Linked DNA regions of Homo sapiens: all the other regions are linked to region 1. The links are contacts of gene promoters, found by promoter capture Hi-C in blood cells and fetal thymus (Javierre and others, 2016). All regions are on one chromosome and are shown on one strand. Each heading gives the region's core, a stretch centred on a gene start or on the middle of the fragment in contact. The rest is flanking DNA. Distances are from core to core; before and after follow the strand shown. Region 1 holds the start of SNTG2 (syntrophin gamma 2). Region 2 overlaps LALTOP (lung cancer associated lncRNA targeting TOP2A). Region 3 overlaps TPO (thyroid peroxidase).

Region 1 (3,545 bases), core at 562-3,061:
TCTTTCAATACAATTCAGACAGGCTGTTTCAAATAATCAAGGTCCTTATTAGAAAGAAAGCGCCAATCACATCTTGTAGCAAACAGGTGAGCAGAGGCCACTCTTGACTGGAAAACATCAAATTTAGCACCTTAATTAATACTGAGCGCAAAGGAGAGCATTTACTAGAATACGCGCAGTTGCTTTATTTGTTGACGTTATTGCCAATAACTCATCAAGTGGGTCAATCATGAAGTATGATGAATCCACTTCAACGCTTCCGCTATAATTACAATGATTAAAAGCAAGAATTGCTTTGCTCGAATGTCTGGAGAAAAATGCACAATCCCTAACCGTGGGAGGGCATCATTATAAAGCTGAAGGCAGTGACCAGACGGAAAGCCTGTGATTCCACAGCGCCTGCAGTTTTTACTGCGGTTTATTTCCAGGTAATCCCCGCATATTTTCTCGGGTTTGATTACCATGGGCAACAGTGGGATAGCTATTCATATTACAAAGTACTTCAAGAAACGAACACCCACATTTTACATGAAATTTAATTTTCATATTTTGTAGTAAAAGCCCAGAAAGGTGCTACTTGAATGAAGATGCACCTGTCTCTACATAGAAATCTTTTTAACATCACAGTAGCGACGACCACAGTCCTAGTTTAGAATCATTATTATGACGATAGGAATTTGTAGCAGCCCTCAACCCGTGGCCTTCTGAACCGTCTCTCCACTGTCCTATAAGGGAGGGCTAACTGTATTCCTGGTCGCTCCTGGGACTGGGAGCTCCTGGGGAAGGAATCCTAAAGGAGTGGTTGTCAATGCATTTTCATTAACAGCCGCGCTTCTCGGCAGCCTCCTAGGGCTGGGGTGGCCACGTGCTCCCTTAAACTGTTTTCACAACTCGAGGCTGTGCTGTGGGTGGCAACTTGAAGGTTTCCAAGAACTTTTCGTTTTTCTTTGGGCCAACATTTCTGTTTTCTGTCAATCAATAGTTTAGTTATTTAAAAATAAGAAGGTGAAGAGGGAGTTATTTAGGGTGGGAACCAGAATAGACTTCAAAAAAGAAATCCGTATTACCCAGTTGGCGTCCCAGCGGTTCCCCGAATGGCCTAGAGCCCCCAGCACCTGCCGAGGCCGCGCCATGCACCTGGCTGGGCTCAAACTGGCCAACTCAGACCTGGCCTGGGCGCCCGAAGGCTGCAGGGGGGACGCTCCGGTCCGAGCCACCGCCTGGGCCCGAAAGAGCCGCTCCTGGGAAGCAATGCCGGGCCAATCTCAAATCCCAAATTCTGGAAAGCACTACTTCCCACGCAGTAAAGGGAAGCCCGGGCGCCTCAAAACCAAACCTTGGAAGACGCTGGAGGAGCAAAGCCTGCAAGTTTCCAGTAAGACACTGGGCTGGAGGGAGCAGAGCGGCCAGGGGGCGGGTGCCCACTGCGTCCCGGGGCTCCGGCGCCCACCCTCCGGCCAGCCGTCCCCGGAGACAGGGAAGGGGTCGCGGGGAGCGAGGGGGCGTGGAGGGAGGAGGGGCGGGGGGAGAAGGGCGCGAAGGAGAGGGAAGGGGGGCCGGAGGTGAAGGGGCGCTGAGGGGCCGCACTCACCCGCGCAGGTACCAGCAGGCAGCCCTGGCGTCCGCGGGAGGCGGCCGGGGGCGGGGGTCCCTCGGTGCCCATCGCCGCCCCTGCGGCTGGGTCCGCGCTCCGGGCCGGCCGAGCTCAACGCCAGGACCCCGTCCGAGCCTCCCAGGGCCCCGCCAGGCGCCGCGTCCGCGCCCGCGCCCCTCTGCCGGCTCCGGCTCGGGCTCCACCGGGGCGCAGGGCTGGGGAACCGGAGCTCCGCCCGCCGACCCGGAGCACCGCCCACGCAGACCCGCCCCGGGCGAGGGAGGGGCCGGGCGCGCACCCGCGGGGAGGGCGGCGAGCGGGGATCAGCCGAAGTCGGGAGAGGGGCGCTTCCACGGGGCGGGAAACTGGCGCGCGACTCTGGGGGAAGTGCAGGATGGGGGGACAGGGGCGCTCCCGCGGGGGTGGATGGGGGACCATAGCGGGGCTGGCGGGGCAGGGGCCGGCGCACGAGGCTGGAGGAGGGGAGCGCGCGCTTCTACCCGGGCTGGGTCGCCGAGGTCCGCGGCGCATCGTGGCGGCGGTGGGCGGAGGGGGGCGGGGGGCACCTCTTCTCCCTTGTGGCGCAGGTGGGCGCGCTCTGGACCGGCTTGACGACCCCTCCCCGCCGCCCCACCTCCCTGGCCAAAGGTTCTCAGCTTCTAATCAGGGACATTTCTAGTCCACAGCCTCGAAGCCATGGGTTCTCCCCGGCCCTCTGAAGCCGCCACACCTGTGCCAGCCGGCCGCGTCCTCAGACCTTTCCCCGCGGAGTCTTCCCAGCACTTGGAGACGCAGCGCAGGGCCCCGAGGACGGCCTGGCCCGGAGAAAAGATACCGAAGCTCCAACTTTCCCCAACCCCGCTCCCCTCCTCCTTCCACCCTCCCTTCCCGCCCCCAAAGCTCGGGGGTCCTATCCCTCCTCCGGTCCGCGGAGTCTCCCGAACCCTGCGGGGACCCGGCGCTCGGCGGTGCCCTCCTGGGGCGCACGGGGCTGGGGCGGGAGCGAGGAGACCAGGTGGGGAGGGGACCCCAGATCTCAGACGCCAGGGGAGACGGCGTTTCCCGCTGTTCATTCAGGTTTGTGCCAAAAGGAGCCTCACAGATGCAGTATTGGGTTTGGTAGACTCAAATCGTCTTGTTTTAATGTAAATGAAAGTAAGTTTAGGATAAATTCCAGTGCGGCGGGGGCAGGCAAGGCTACCCACATTTTTTAAAAAGAAGCCAGCCCGTATTTTTCTCCCTTTCCAAATCCTCCGCCCCCCAGTCCTTCGACCCAGGCACGAGCGCCCATCGCGGAGGCCACGATGCCCGTTTTATTCCCTCTCCACGGCAAGGAAAAGCAGCGAAATCTGAGGTCTTCAGAGGTTAACCCTATCTAGGAGCAGAATGTGACGCATTGTAAACAAATAAATATTGAAAACTCGATGTTAAACACTTTACTTTTTCTGACTCCGACTTGCTTGACCCCTGAGCAGACCTGGGTTTCGAACACAGACGCCCTTCCCCATTTCTCTATTCTCTGTATTCCTGTTTCACCTTCACGGCAGTCTGCCAGCACTTCTTAGCACTCAGTTTAACCAGAGGACAAGCTCTTGAATAGCAAAAACCAGGTCTTTTTATACGTGGCACAGTGGCTGTTACAAAATATGCTTCTTGGGTGAATTGGTAAAAAATATTGTATTACTTTTTATTTGTAGCAAAACCTAGAATAAGAAAAAGTACAAGAGATTATTGTTTGCCTTTAAATTGCATTTTTAAAAGAGCGTGCATATAATCTCTGAGAAATTAAATGTCTACAAATAGCACAAAGATATTGTCTCATTACCTTGCAAAGGGACATTCTATTCCAGGGCCTGAAGAAGGAAAAACAGCGTGTTGCATGCATAAATGTTGACTTTGAGAGACAAGTTTTTGTTAAAATTTTATCGTTAAATGAATAGACACATATATT
Region 2 (3,545 bases), core at 373-2,872, 610 kb before region 1:
TTGGCTTACTGGTGTAGCGGCTGGCATACTGGTGTAGCGGCTGGTTTACTGGTATAGCGGCTGGCATACTGGTGTAGCGGCTGGCATACTGGTGTAGCGGCTGGCTTACTGGTATAGCGGCTGGTTTACTGGTGTAGCGGCTGGTTTACTGGTGTAGCGGGTGGCTTACTGTTGTAGCGGCTGGCTTATTGGTGTAGCGGCTGGTTTACTGGTGTAGCGGGTGGCTTACTGTTGTAGCGGCTGGCTTATTGGTGTAGCGGCTGGTTTACTGGTGTGGCCGCTGGTATACTGGTGTAGCAGCTGGTTTGCTGGTGTAGTGGCTGGTATGCTGGTGTAGCGGCTGGCATGCTGGTGTAGCGGCTGGCTTACTGGTGTAGCGGCTGGTTTACTGATGTAATGAGTGGTTGGTTTACCAGTATAGCAGTTGGTTTACTGGTGTAGCAGCTGGTTTACTGGTGTAGCGGCTGGTTTACTGGTATAGCGACTGGTTTACTGGTGTAGCAGGTGGTTTAGTATAGAGGGTGACTTGGTACAACGAGGGACCACGGCCTCCCAGGATTGTGTCAGGGACTCCCCTGGTTTACTGGTGTAGCGGCTGGTTTACCGGTGTAGTGGCTGGTTTACTGGTGTAGCAGGTGGTTTAGTGTAGAGGGTGACTTGGTACAATGAGGGACCACGGCCTCCCAGGATTGTGTCAGGGACTCCCCTGGTTTACTGGTGTAGCGGCTGGTTTACCGGTGTAGTGGCTGGTTTACTGGTGTAGCAGGTGGTTTAGTGTAGAGGGTGACTTGGTACAACGAGGGACCACGGCCTCCCAGGATTGTGTCGGGGACTCTCCTGTGGCCTGGGCATGGCCGCAGCTGCTTCAGCACACAGGGTTGTCCCCCAGGATGTGGCCTGACCGTGGGCTCAGGAATGCTGTGGGTGGGAGGGATAAGCAGGGCATTCAGGGGACCTGTGGCCCATGGGAGCCACCCAGCTTCCCCTTTCTTCTGGGAGCCAGTGTTTTGCTGAGATTCAATGGACCCAGAGATCTCAAGCCTGGGGACCCAACGCCCCAACCCACATCCTGCCTCAGGGAGAGAAGTCCACGCGTGGCCCAGGGCACAGGAAACCCCTCCCCGCAGGAAACCGCAGGCTCCAAGAAGGTTGTTCTCACCGACCACGGCGTCCAGAGCTCTTCCAAATGAAAATTGTTTTTCCATTTTGGGGGTTGAGGGAAGTGGATTTAAATGCTGCCAGCAAAAACCAGTTCACAAGGCAGTTTTGGACGCCTCTACCTTCTGCACAGGACGTTTTACAGCAGCGCCTGTGGGCCTGAATGAGTTTGTATTTGAGATTGAAGGCTTCTGTCATACTAAGAATGTGAAGTCCTTACAAGTCACCAGTGTACGGAATCCGCCCACGGGGAGCAAGATCACACTAGAACCCCCAAGCTTGTTATTATCATTATTGCACCTCCACGTGAACCCAGCAGTGGTTCGAAGTTGGAATGTCACAGACTCTGAAGCCCCATCAAAGGCCTCTTCGACCTCAGCAGAGACTCCCTTCTGAGGATGGGCTCCAGCAAACCTGCTCTGAGCCTTCCCTTCCCTTGTGCCCCTGCCTCATCACTGCCATGGCTACCTCTTGGGCCCGCGTGCAGACATGGACAGGCCCACCCTGCCCCATTCTCCCGGCTTTTGCTCCCCCCACCCCAAAGCCTGAAGAGTCCTTTGGAGACATCAGCCCAATTTCCTTCATTCTCATAACTTTCCAGAGGTTTCTGAATCATTTGGGAGGAAACACTGAGTCCTGCCCAAGCTTCGCAAGCTGCAGCCCTGGCTCCCAGGTCCCTGGGCCCTGGCCCAGCACACGAGGGCGTCCTGTCTCCAGAGGCTGCTGCCAGGTGCACGTGTCCTCTGTTGCTGGCGATTCGGGTCCACCACACTATACAGAGTTCCCCCGCAAACATCGGCTGCACATGGCATTGCTCCCAGGCCCTCTGACTTCATGCATCACCTGCGACGTCTGGACTGACTGTCTCTGCCGCAGCCTGTGCGTGAGCTCACAGAGAGTCCGGCACCCTGGGCCACACCCAACGCCTGGCATGGAAGAGACAGCCAAACGTTTGTTGGATGAATAATTTACGAAACACTCTCTGTGGGCCGAAGGTGCCTCTCCCTGGAGTGGAGCTTGGGTAGAAGTGAGGGGCGGGACTTGGTGAGACCAGGGGGTGCAGGTGCTCAGCCGGAGAAGGTGAGGAGGTGACGTGTGTGTTTGCAGAGTGCTTTACACTTAGAAAGCCCATCGTCTCTAAGACAATGTGAGGAGGTGTGCTTTATGCAGCCCTGCGTGTTCCTGGAGGACCTGGGCCTCTTTCAGGACATCACCAGCAAACACGGGCCAGGCTCTCATAGGTGCTGGCACAGCACTGCCCGGGAACATTCGTGGCATCCAGGAGGTGCCATGTGGACTCGGAAATGGGGGTGTCAGGGTGGTAAGTGAGCACGGGCTGAGGTTGATTGAAGGATGCTCCGCGGTGAGGCTTCTCGAGGGAAGCGTTCTCAAACATCCACCAACGGCTGCCCATTCAAATTCCATCATCGCACATCATTTTCCTCCTAAAATTTAATAACACAGAACCGGAAAATTTGATGACCCATTCAGACCCTTAATGGTTTTATAAAACAAAGCTAAAGTCACTTACGAAGCAATAAAAATAAATTCTGGCTGGAGCACACAATAAAAACTTTTCATAAATTGCTTTTTCTTGTTTCTGTCACTGATACGAGCTGTCACCAAACTTAGCATTCCACTCTCATATTTATGCAAAACATTTGTTTTCCTGGCTATAAATCACTGTTGTCTTAGCCCACTTCACCTTCTTTTAATTTTTGCGGTCAGTACTAGCCATCAACACAAATACTAACTTTCCCCCCTAACGATTAGCTAATGAAATGCACATGACTTAGATTTGTGCCTCAGCAAGATGATGGAGGAGGTCACTGTCTAATGTGAGAAATGGCCAACTTTAAAATGGTGCCTGCCCCTGTGGCTGGAGGGTGCTGGGCTGAGGACATGGAGGCACAGGTTGGGTGGGAGGGAGGGCTGGGGACCTGGCACTCGCAGGGGAAGTGGTCATTGTTTGAGGTTTGTGTGCCGCTGAAGATGGTCCAGGGTAAGGTCTGGGTGTGGCATTACTTGAGGAGGTATCTGCCCCTTCCTCGAGGCTGTGTCCCCAGGAGCCTCTCGTCTGCGACCAACGGGCACGCTGGCCTGTTTCCAGTGGAATTTGGGAGATTCTGGTCCCTGCGTACTTGGAAGGCCCCGACTTTTCTGCCCTGATCGTGTGGCTCCTGGTAGAGCAGCTGAAGTATGTCCCCTCCCTGCAGGGCGTCCAGCCCGGGAACCTCCGTGCCTCCTCTTGGAAGCTGCAAGAAGGCAGTCTCGCAGAGCCAGCCCAGGAATGAAACACCGCCTTTCTGGCATGTCCTGAAATGAGCTCCAGAAACTGGAAAAACTGATTTCCGTAGGTCTATGGAAAAATCTTGCGGCGCTTCCTC
Region 3 (3,545 bases), core at 346-2,845, 570 kb before region 1:
TCAGGCCGTCTCTACCCCAAGAGTCTGGGGAAAGAGGGCCCTGGGGGAGGAGGGTCCCTGGGGAGGAGGGTCCTGGGGGAAGAGGGCACCCGGTCACCCATGGCTTACAGGGATCCCGTGGCCCACTGCCCCATGGCTGCCTCGGCCTAGTCCCAGCTGGCCTCCCTCCAGCACGCTTATGAATCTAATGATAAAGAGAGGAGAGATGGCAGGAACCCCCCGTGACGTGCCTAGAGAAACAGCACCCGTCAGCTCACAGCGTGGGAAGGTGCAGGAGGGAACAAAGGGTTAGACGTCCTGGACGGAGGACAAACCTGGCTGCATCCTAGGGAAGGACCTCGCGGCTTTCCCATGGATTTGCTGGAAATTAATGCAAATGATTCAAACTTTCTTGAATTTATAATGCATACCATAGGTAGGAATATCAATACAAAATACAACTGAAAACAGCAAAAAGGTATAGGGCACCGTTTATCAACGACAAGGAAAACCTGAAAAATTGTATTTCAGAAATTGCAGAACTAAGTGATGGTGGAAAAGTAGAATTGGTAAAAATAATAAAAACAAGAGCGAATGGAGAAAGGACTGGAACTGCACATTTAGCATCTTCCCTGGACAGTAAGAATCAACAGACAGACAAAGTCTTCATGAAATTTAAGTTTAAAATGCTGAGCTAAGAAAGCCGGATCTGAAGAAATCATAACACAAAGGAAAACACCTCCATGGCGAAAGGTCTAATTGGCAAAACTGACATGGACCAAAGAACTGATTTGAGGAATGAATTTTTAGTGTAAAAGTTTGCACAGAAAGAATTCAACTTGGTGAAAACAATTTCAATGCAATAAAACAAGCATAATACCGTGGAGGTATTTTAAATGCAGTGTCAAGAAAGTTGATGGAGGAGTTGGTTTCATGGAGTTAACTCCGAATCGTAGATTTGCAGTGAAAATATATCAACAATTTGTCACATTAATAACAATCACACCAAAACATACAGTGTGAGACCCCAGACAGCAGGGTGGGTAGAAAACGAGGAGAGTAGAGAAGCAAACACCTTTGTCTCACTAGGAGAGGAAACGTGTTTGCTGAGCACCTGCTGTGTGCCACACCGTGCTGGGTTCTCTCCCCTCCCGTGTCTCTCTCTGCTGTCTCTGTCTCTCTTTCTTCCTATCCCTCTCTGTTCTCCTCCCTACTCCTCACCGCACAATAATGCCCTAAGGTGGAAATAAGATCATGTTTTTAAAAGCTGAAGAATAAGACACAGGGAGGCGAGGCTGGGATTGTGTTGAGCCCATTTGCTGGGAGCAGAATAGGGGTCTCAGGGTAGGTGGTGGGAAGACATTTCCTAATGAGTGACTTGACCTTCTGAGCTCACCTAATCACAGGTCTGGGGGTGCTGTGGTTTTGGTCCAGGATGTTTCTGCCCTGGAGCCCCAGGGTCTTCCCTGTTATGGTCTCTGACTCTGTAACTGCCTGTGTTCTCAAGCGTGTGATGGCACATTAACATCCACTTTTTCATATCTTTCAGCTAAGTGGCATTTTGCAAACTAAATTGGTGCTTGGTAGCGTATTTTTAGAACTCCAGAGTCTAAAATCAACTATAGCCAAATATTTCTCTCCCAAGTTCCCTTGGAAAGGTATTCATTTCATCTATGGCTGTCAATCTTAAAGAAAATTGCTATTTTTCTTGTGAGTGTGGGCTACAGACACTAATATTTATTATAATGATAATGTGATAGATGTTTATAGGGATGTTTGCAAATACAAAATTGTTTATGAATAGGAAATTATAGTCGTATCAGTTTTTGTTACAATTATACATTTCATAGTTCTAATTACAGAACCAGCTAATTTGAAGTTATTTGCTTACAGCCTATTCAATTTTTATTGCTTAGTCTATTTCATGGTTAGCTGAGGGTTTTAATTATTAGTTATTAAAGTTTTTAAGGTTTAAAGACCAAATGATTCATAAAACATAGGGAATATTTCCTGCCACCACCCCATCTAAAACTAGAGACACCATTTAAAGGTTAAAGTACTCTCTTTCCAAAACAGATCAGTATAGTGTCTTGTAGAGAGAGTAGGTGATTATTCAATCTTCACTGGTAATGATTATTTGAAACAACAGCCCTGGCATGTGGAATATAATCTTCTCGCGAGGAGAAGCAGGGCAGCTGTGGCACGACCTCCAGCACCAGACAGGTCTTGGGTTCAAGGATCTGCTCTGGGCCTACCAGCTTTGAGCAAGTAACAGGCTCTCGCTCCACCTCCACATGCTACACTGAAAATGGACACAATCATAGCACTTCATTAAGTTTTCTGGGGCTGCAGTCACAGAGGACCACAGACTTGGCTGCTTAAACAGCAGTTTATGACCTAGAGCTCTGGAGGCAGGAGTCCACATCAAGGTGCCTGCAGGCGGCTCCCCCGGCCTCCCTCCCAGTTCCTGTGGCTGCTGGCGATCTTCCCAGGCCCCAGCTTAGAGAAACCCCACCCTGATCTCTGCCTTCCCGTCAAGATGGCCTTCGCCTGCTCAGCATGACTCTGTCCAAACTCTTCTTTCTAGAGGAACACCAGCTATACTGAATTAGGGGCCCCTCTACTCCAGGACAGTCTCATTTTAACTAATTACACCTGCAGAGACCTTAGTTCCAAATAAGGTTACGTTCTGAGGTCCTAAAGGTCAGGATATAAACATATGTTCTGGGCAATGCACAGTTCAAGCCATGGCAAGCACCTGAGTCAGATGATTGATCAGAAAATCAGAGGAGACAGTGGCTAAGGATGACTTAGCATTACATCTGACACATGGCTTTAGCCATTACTATCACCTCTCTACTGGAAGGAATTTCTCACAGTTGTCTGAATTATGGTGTATGTTAGTTTTGTTAGAAGCTATGAAGCTACTCAGAAATACGTCACTGAAATATCATATGCCGGATAGATCATAAGCTCATGCATCAAATGCAGGCATCTGGGTCAACCACAGCAGTTGTCAGAGGCCTTGCAGAATAACTGAAATGGGGAACTGGCTTTACTACCATATCTCAGCCCCAGAGAGACAGGATGCAGAGCAGATGGCAGGTACAGAGTCTTCCCTTACAAGTGATCACAAAAATAAAAACAACAGAAAAGAGTCCATTAACTGTGGATTCTTGACAAGGCCCTTTGGAAACGATAAAGATCATGGGTAACATCTGGTTGCTAAGCTTTCAAGTTTTTAAAAACCAGTTCCTGTAGGAGGTGCAAAGACTGTAAGAAAAAGATTTCCTGTTCAAGGGGCAGATGTTCCTCAGTGTACTGAGAAGTTGCTAGAAAAATGAAGTTTGCTAGAATGTTGAGTTTCTATTATTGGGAAGATGAGAAACACCCTGGAAGATGGCCTTAGAGTGGGAAAGTCCTGGATAATCCATAGATATGTGGTATCGGGTGAGGCTGGGAGGCTTGGATAATCCATACATGTGTGGTATGGGGTGGTGCTGGGGGCTCCGCCAGTGAGGAGCTCTGAAGGCCGGGGTGGAGGGCGAAGGTGACTGCAGGGGTCA

The links. Contacts are between HindIII fragments. The CHiCAGO score rates a contact against its expected background, and 5 or more counts as called.
Region 2: a fragment that was not itself captured here is called in contact with the fragment with the promoter of SNTG2 in region 1 in 1 of 17 cell types (naive B cells); the score reaches 5.2 in naive B cells.
Region 3: a contact is called between a fragment that was not itself captured here and the fragment with the promoter of SNTG2 in region 1, in 1 of 17 cell types (naive CD8 T cells). The highest score is 7.3, in naive CD8 T cells.

What each region holds. Positions count from the first base shown.
Region 1 is chr2:949,115-952,659 of GRCh38, reverse strand. It overlaps SNTG2 (syntrophin gamma 2), which reads right to left and starts at 1,811. Exons shown (of 17, transcript NM_018968.4): 1 at 1,592-1,811. The coding sequence starts at 1,663. SNTG2-AS1 (SNTG2 antisense RNA 1) reads left to right here and starts at 1,268. Exons shown (of 3, transcript NR_136151.1): 1 at 1,268-1,375; 2 at 2,274-2,749; 3 at 2,859-3,026. RefSeq lists a silencer at 1,773-1,902. The HindIII fragment of the contact is 9,455 bases long and covers 1-3,545 here.
Region 2 is chr2:1,562,155-1,565,699 of GRCh38, reverse strand. The region is part of intron 4 of LALTOP (lung cancer associated lncRNA targeting TOP2A); the gene reads left to right. Among named protein-coding and RNA genes, the nearest start is that of LALTOP, 61 kb to the left of the region's middle. The HindIII fragment of the contact is 367 bases long and covers 1,439-1,805 here.
Region 3 is chr2:1,518,001-1,521,545 of GRCh38, reverse strand. All of the region lies in intron 15 of TPO (thyroid peroxidase), which reads right to left. All of the region lies in intron 6 of LALTOP (lung cancer associated lncRNA targeting TOP2A), which reads left to right. Among named protein-coding and RNA genes, the nearest start is that of LALTOP, 110 kb to the left of the region's middle. The HindIII fragment of the contact is 3,232 bases long and covers 1-3,211 here.